Regions from separate parts of the Homo sapiens genome. Here region 2 is linked to region 1. The links are contacts of gene promoters, found by promoter capture Hi-C in blood cells and fetal thymus (Javierre and others, 2016). All regions are on one chromosome and are shown on one strand. Each heading gives the region's core, a stretch centred on a gene start or on the middle of the fragment in contact. The rest is flanking DNA. Distances are from core to core; before and after follow the strand shown. Region 1 holds the start of PKDCC (protein kinase domain containing, cytoplasmic). Region 2 has its middle 42 kb from the start of SLC8A1-AS1.

The links. The method cuts DNA at HindIII sites, captures the fragments that hold promoters and counts their contacts. A CHiCAGO score of 5 or more calls a contact.
Region 2: a fragment that was not itself captured here is called in contact with the fragment with the promoter of PKDCC in region 1 in 1 of 17 cell types (M1 macrophages); the score reaches 5.9 in M1 macrophages.

What each region holds. Positions count from the first base shown.
Region 1 is chr2:42,046,344-42,049,421 of GRCh38, forward strand. It overlaps PKDCC (protein kinase domain containing, cytoplasmic), which reads left to right and starts at 1,678. Exons shown (of 7, transcript NM_138370.3): 1 at 1,678-2,495. The coding sequence starts at 1,857. RefSeq lists enhancers at 55-558, 559-1,063, 687-806, 2,307-2,566 and silencers at 977-1,266, 1,377-1,626, 1,777-1,956, 1,967-2,066, 2,197-2,266. The HindIII fragment of the contact is 13,255 bases long and covers 1-3,078 here.
Region 2 is chr2:39,874,223-39,877,250 of GRCh38, forward strand. No RefSeq gene overlaps it. Among named protein-coding and RNA genes, the nearest start is that of SLC8A1-AS1, 42 kb to the right of the region's middle. The HindIII fragment of the contact is 216 bases long and covers 1,367-1,582 here.

The sequences.
Region 1 (3,078 bases), core at 428-2,927:
TGCAGCCACGGCCCAGAGTGGGGCAGAACAGCTCTATCGGTACAGACCTGACTCCACCAGACCCAGTGTTCTCGGAGGAATCATGGCTTCCTTCACCCTGCCTTTCCATGCTTGCCAAGTCGGACTGGGCCCCAACTCCCCAAGCCATAGAGAACAAGGAGTCCGGGCTGGAAGGCCCACCTCAGTGGGATCATAGGCTGGAGATCAGGGACTCAGCTCTCTCCTCGGTCCTTCCATGTCCAAAGGAACAGGGCAGAAATTCCTGTCCCTTTCTCATCACAGACACTGCATTCTGTAGGAACGCCAGACCTCTTCAGGGAAAATCTCCCCTCCCTGGATACCCCCCCACCCACCCCCACCCCCAGAAAAAAGGCTGTGGACCCTTCTCCTCCCTGACCCCTCCCCAGCCAATCCCTGACACTGTGAGGAGGACAGAGATTAACCTGGCCCAGAGGGAGGCAGGAAGCTGCCCAGGAAGGTGAGAGGATCTAGGTGGGCAGTTTCAGAGTGGCGGGGAAGAGGAGAGCTGCGAGGGGGAGGGGCAGCGGCTTATCTCTCCCAGGAGGGGGGAGCTCACTCCAAACAGCTAGTGCACTGGCGTGTGAAAGCCCCTCAATTAGCACTAATGATGCAATCAGGGAGGGAGGAGGAGGGACCGAAGTTCTGGTGGCGTCAGCACCAACTTACACACAAGGTACACATTCCCTTCATCGGACACAATGGCCCCTTCAGACACGCCGAGGCACACACTCCACAGACAGCCGTCCGTGGGCACAAACGCACTCTTTGCCCAAGCTACTAGCATGCACATGGTTTCTTATACGCGGCTGACCCCGTCAGACCCCAGGCATCTTGAGGGGTAGGGAGCGACCCCCAGCTGCATTTGGGGCTTTAGAGGCAAGGAAAATCAGAAACACTTTGGTAAAAGGAGTTGAACAGGGCATCCTCGGCGAGCTCACGAGCATTCCTCTATGCCTAGAGCTCCTGTCCCACGCGCGCTCGCAGGTGCTGGCCCGGCTGTGCCCGCTTCCCCCTCACCATCGCCCCAATCCGGAATCCGGGGCTGAGCGAGGAGCCGCCACCCCCGGCCCCACCCGCGAGAGACGGGGTCCACGCGCCTTCCCTGCGCCCAAACCGCCCCGAGGCCCCCAGTCCCAGGAGGGAGCGCTGAGATCACTCGGATCTCCGCACCCCGGACTTAGCTGCTCGTCCCCTCCGGAGCCCGCTACCCGCCGGCCTCGCCCCTTTATCTTTCCCCCACTCCGCCCGGCCGGCTCCGTTATCCACCTCCCAATCCCGTTATCCGGCCGCCCCGGCCCCGTTATCCGCCCTCGCGTTGGGCGCGGAGCCCCCGCGCGCCTCCTGGCCGCCGCCGCCCCCTCCCCCGCTCCCAGACGGAGCTCGGGGGACCGCGGGCTGGGCGGGACCGCGGGCTGGGCAGGACCGGAGCCGCCTCCGCGCCGCTTCCCAGGCCCGGACGGCCGCGGGAGGAGGTCCCGCTGTCAGTCAGCGGGGAAGGCCGGGCCGGGCGGCCGGAGGGGGCGGCGCCGAGGACGGGCTCGGGCCGGGAGCTGGGAGGTGGAGGCGGAGGGGCGGGGGAGGGGGCGGGGGAGGGGGCGGGGGCGGGGGCGGGGGGCGGCTCTGGGCCTTATAAGCGGCGGGGGCAGGGCGGCAGGGAGGCAAGTGTCAGGCCGATGTGTCGCCCGCGAGGGGCCGGGGTCGGGGCCGCCGGGGCCATGCGCGCGGGCTGGGCAGGGGGCCGGCGGGGCGCAGAGCGGAGCCGCCTCGGAGCCTGAGCCGCCCGGGGCCGGGGCCGGGGAGCCGCGCGGGGCCGGCCGGCCGGGGGGAGGGGAGCGATGCGGCGCCGGCGGGCGGCAGTGGCCGCGGGTTTCTGCGCCTCCTTCCTGCTGGGCTCCGTCCTCAACGTGCTCTTCGCTCCGGGCTCGGAGCCTCCGAGGCCAGGCCAGTCCCCTGAGCCTTCGCCGGCCCCGGGTCCGGGCCGTCGCGGGGGCCGCGGGGAGCTGGCCCGGCAGATCCGGGCGCGCTACGAGGAGGTGCAGCGCTATTCCCGCGGGGGCCCCGGGCCCGGGGCGGGCCGGCCGGAGCGGCGGCGCCTGATGGACCTGGCTCCGGGCGGGCCCGGCCTGCCGCGCCCCCGGCCCCCTTGGGCCCGGCCCCTGTCCGACGGCGCCCCAGGCTGGCCCCCGGCTCCCGGCCCAGGCTCCCCCGGCCCGGGCCCGCGCCTGGGCTGCGCCGCGCTTCGCAACGTGTCCGGCGCGCAGTACATGGGCTCAGGCTACACCAAGGCCGTGTACCGGGTCCGCCTGCCCGGCGGTGCCGCGGTGGCGCTCAAGGCGGTGGACTTTAGCGGCCACGATCTGGGCAGCTGCGTGCGCGAGTTCGGGGTACGGAGGGGCTGCTATCGGCTGGCGGCCCACAAGCTGCTTAAGGAGATGGTGCTGCTGGAGCGGCTGCGGCACCCCAACGTGCTGCAGGTACGAGGGTGGGGACGCGGGGGTAACGGTGTTGGCTGGGAGTGCCCAAGACCTTGTCAACCTGGCTGGAAGAGAACCCCTTGATCTGGAGTGCCAGTGACTGCACCCAGGCTAAGCTAGACGCAGAAACCGGACCATGGCCCTTCCCACTGCACCACCCTGCTTCTCACTCCTGGGTGGGCGTCCCTTTACCGGAGAACTCCTGGGTTTCTCGGCTTCCACACATCTCTTAAAGACAGGCCAGGACAGAGGCTCCCAAAACTCAGGGGGTGGGGCAGTCCATTAGGATTTAGGACTCTACTCCGGGCTGGAGTTAGGAGGTTGAACACCAGGGATATTACCCCAAGCCAAAATGACCCTAAGCCAAGACACTTGAGTCAGAATTCCAACTGTGTGATAAAGTCCCCCTTCTTGATGGAACTTCTCCCAACTTCCAGTGATTTGTCTGGTTTTGAAAATGAGACGGGACAGCAGTGGGGCTGGGAAGAGCTGGAAAGAGACCATGTGTCAGGCTTGATTCCTATAGAGTCTCCCCACCCACCCACCTCCAGCGCCACCCAGAAGACACTGGAAGGGGGCTGGG
Region 2 (3,028 bases), core at 225-2,724, 2.2 Mb before region 1:
GGCCAGGATGATGATACTTTGTATTTATCTATTGCTCTGCTTTTTTAAAACAAAGCAATAGTTCCCTCCTCTTCTCAATCAAATGAGGTAGGCTGGATTGTATGTTATTTGTGCTTACTTGTATGGATTGAGAAATCGAGGCTTGCAGTAGTTTAGTGACTTGCCTAAGATCGTTATTGCCTTGGATGGTGGTGAGCTGGGACTTAAACCCAGGTATTGTGACTCAAGGGTTTTTCCTCCTGTCAACACATGCTGCTTTGTGTTAACCAACTGGTCAACTCTTTTAGCCTTTTGAGCCTCCTACGGGAATAGTAAAGACAAAAAGCCATTACCTACTCAGAAAGCCGTGTTGTAGAGTTTCTTCAGAATTGTGCTGGTAGCACTGCATATCTTTTTCTATGTTAGTAATATATGTGTATATATATGTATATATATATATGTGTATATATATATATATATATATATATATATATATATATATTTTTTTTTTTTTGGAGACGAAGTCTTGCTCTTGGTCCCCAGGCTGGAGTGTGATGGCGCAATCTTGGCTCACTGCAACCTCTGCCTCCTGGGTTCAAGCGATTCTCCTGCCTCAGCCTCCTGAGTACCTGGGATTACAGGCATCTGCTACCATGCCTGGCTAAATTTTGTATTTTTAGTAGAGACGGGGTTTCACCATGTTGACCAGGCTGGTCTTGAACTCCTAACCTCAGATGATTCACCCGCCTCGGCCTCCCAAAGTGCTGGGACTGCAGGGGTGAGCCACCGAGCCTGGCCGATAGTCATAATTTAAAAAAAAAGAATAAGGATTTTTTGAAGTTGTCATTATCATAGAATTTTATTATAGGGCATTATTGTATAATTATTAATAGAAACAATTATGAAATGAAGTCATTTTAAGCACCAGACTAGGAACAGCCTAATGCTTTCTAACTCTGAGAAGGGATTTTACATTTAGAGGAAAGTTCTTTTATTTTTGTTCTTTGGTGCTCTTCTCTTCCCATGAAATTTGCATCGTAAGTGCCTGGGTGATTTCTTGGCAAGAGCTCTGCAAAGCAAAGGCCAAGTGTTCCGCTGGGAGAAGGAGAGTTAAGGAGGCAGCCCAGGACTGTTTAGACTTTGCTTAGTCATAGTTTATGAAAAGTGCATGTCTCAACCTTGGATAGTTGCAAAAGCCAAGGGAGGTAGCTCCTTGGAAGAAAAATGTCAGTTTTCAAGATTGCTTTGACAGGAGGTGCCTTGGCAACTGGGCCAAACATTTCTTAAGGACATGTGGATGCTTGGTGCATCTTGGGAAAGAAATATTTCACAGCAGACATTTGTATAATACCTTCTTTGAATTCTGAGAAAAACTGGAGACATTGAAAGCTTTTCATCTTAGGGTCCCCACAGACATGATGTCCAAATGCCAGGAATAAAGTCCTGAAGCTAAGATCAGAAAGGTCCACGGTGAGCTATAGTTAAATACGTATTGGCCCGTGATGCCATCCCAAGGGTGTTGATGGGCTAAGTCCCCAGCCAGCTTGCTGCAGACACAAAAAGAACCCCAAATGGTGTTGCCAAATCTCTTCCTCTGTGAAGAAGCTTCAGTGAAACTTGAGCTTGGTCAGTGGTTGAGGACTTTGTCAAATAAAAACAAATCTGGACTTAGGTAAGGAGAAACTTTATTCAAAGAGGCTATTGTAATAGTAAGCTCCCTAATCTCAGGATCTACAGACATCTCAAAACCAAACAGAAAAAGACATTTGTGGGATGGGGTAAGCAGGGATAGCAGGAACTTAGTAGGGGAAATTGGGCAATTAGGTGGAGGTAAACAGACAGCAAGATGGTGGTTTGACAGGTTTCTGCTGTCATCGGCCCATTCTCAGGATGGGCTATTAAGTACTGATGTTGTGTATTTTAGTGCTAGGTCAGGCTTGGAGGGAAGCCAAAGTTCAGGGATCTGTGGGGAGAAGAGAAGACTGACTGAAGTTTGGTCAAGACAAATCAGTGCATAAGACTGTGGACCACTGAGATTGTGTGGTCAGCTTGGAGATCTCTGGGAAGCTGTCATAGAAAGTCTGTCACAGCCATTCCTGAATGTAGGTCCTGAGGCTGGCTGCATCTGGGGGCTCACCAAAAACACAGAGTCCACCTCTGGGAATCTACATTGTAACAAGCTTCTCCAGATGATTCTCATGTTTACCCAAGTTTAAGAATAAATACTGCAAACAACAATCGATTTAATCAGGATACCTGATTTAGAGTGGCAGATATGCTACTTATTAGCTGGATAATTAGATAAGTCAAGTAACTATATTTAGCTTCAGCTTCCTTAACTATAAAATGGGACTATTACCTGCTTCAAAGAGGCATTGTGTGGATTATATGATGCTAACATGAAAGATTCCACCAGGAAACAGGGAAGAAAATTTTAAGCACTAACTTATTATCATAGAGTAATAATCTCCAACCAGTTGCTGTAGTTTGTTGGTTGGGTTTTGTTTCTTTTCTTTTCTTTTTCTTTTTCTTTCTTTCTTTTTTTTTTTTTTTGAGATGGAATCTTGCTCTGTCACCCAGGCTGGAGTGCAGTGCCACAATCTTGGCTCACTGCCACCTCCACCTCCCGGGTTCAAGTGATTCTCCCGCCTCAGCCTCCCAAGTAGCTGGGATTACAGGGGTACATCAGCATGCCCAGCTAATTTTTTGTATTTTTAGTAGAGATGGGGTTTCTCCATGTTGGCCAGGCTGGTCTTGAACCCCTGACCTCAAGTCATCCAGGCACCTTGGTCTCCCATAGTGTTGGGATTACAGGTGTGAGCCACAGAGACTGGGCTGTTTTCTTTTGTTTAAAAATAAATTCTCATTGGTCTATATGTCTGTTTTGGTACCAGTACCATGCTGTTTTGGTTACGGTGGCCTTGTAGTATAGTTTGAAGTCAGGTAGCGTGATGGCTCCAGCTTTGTTCTTTTTGCTTAGGATTGTCTTGGCTATATGGGGTTTAATTCCATATGAAATTTAAAATAGTTTTTCTAATTCTGTGAAGAA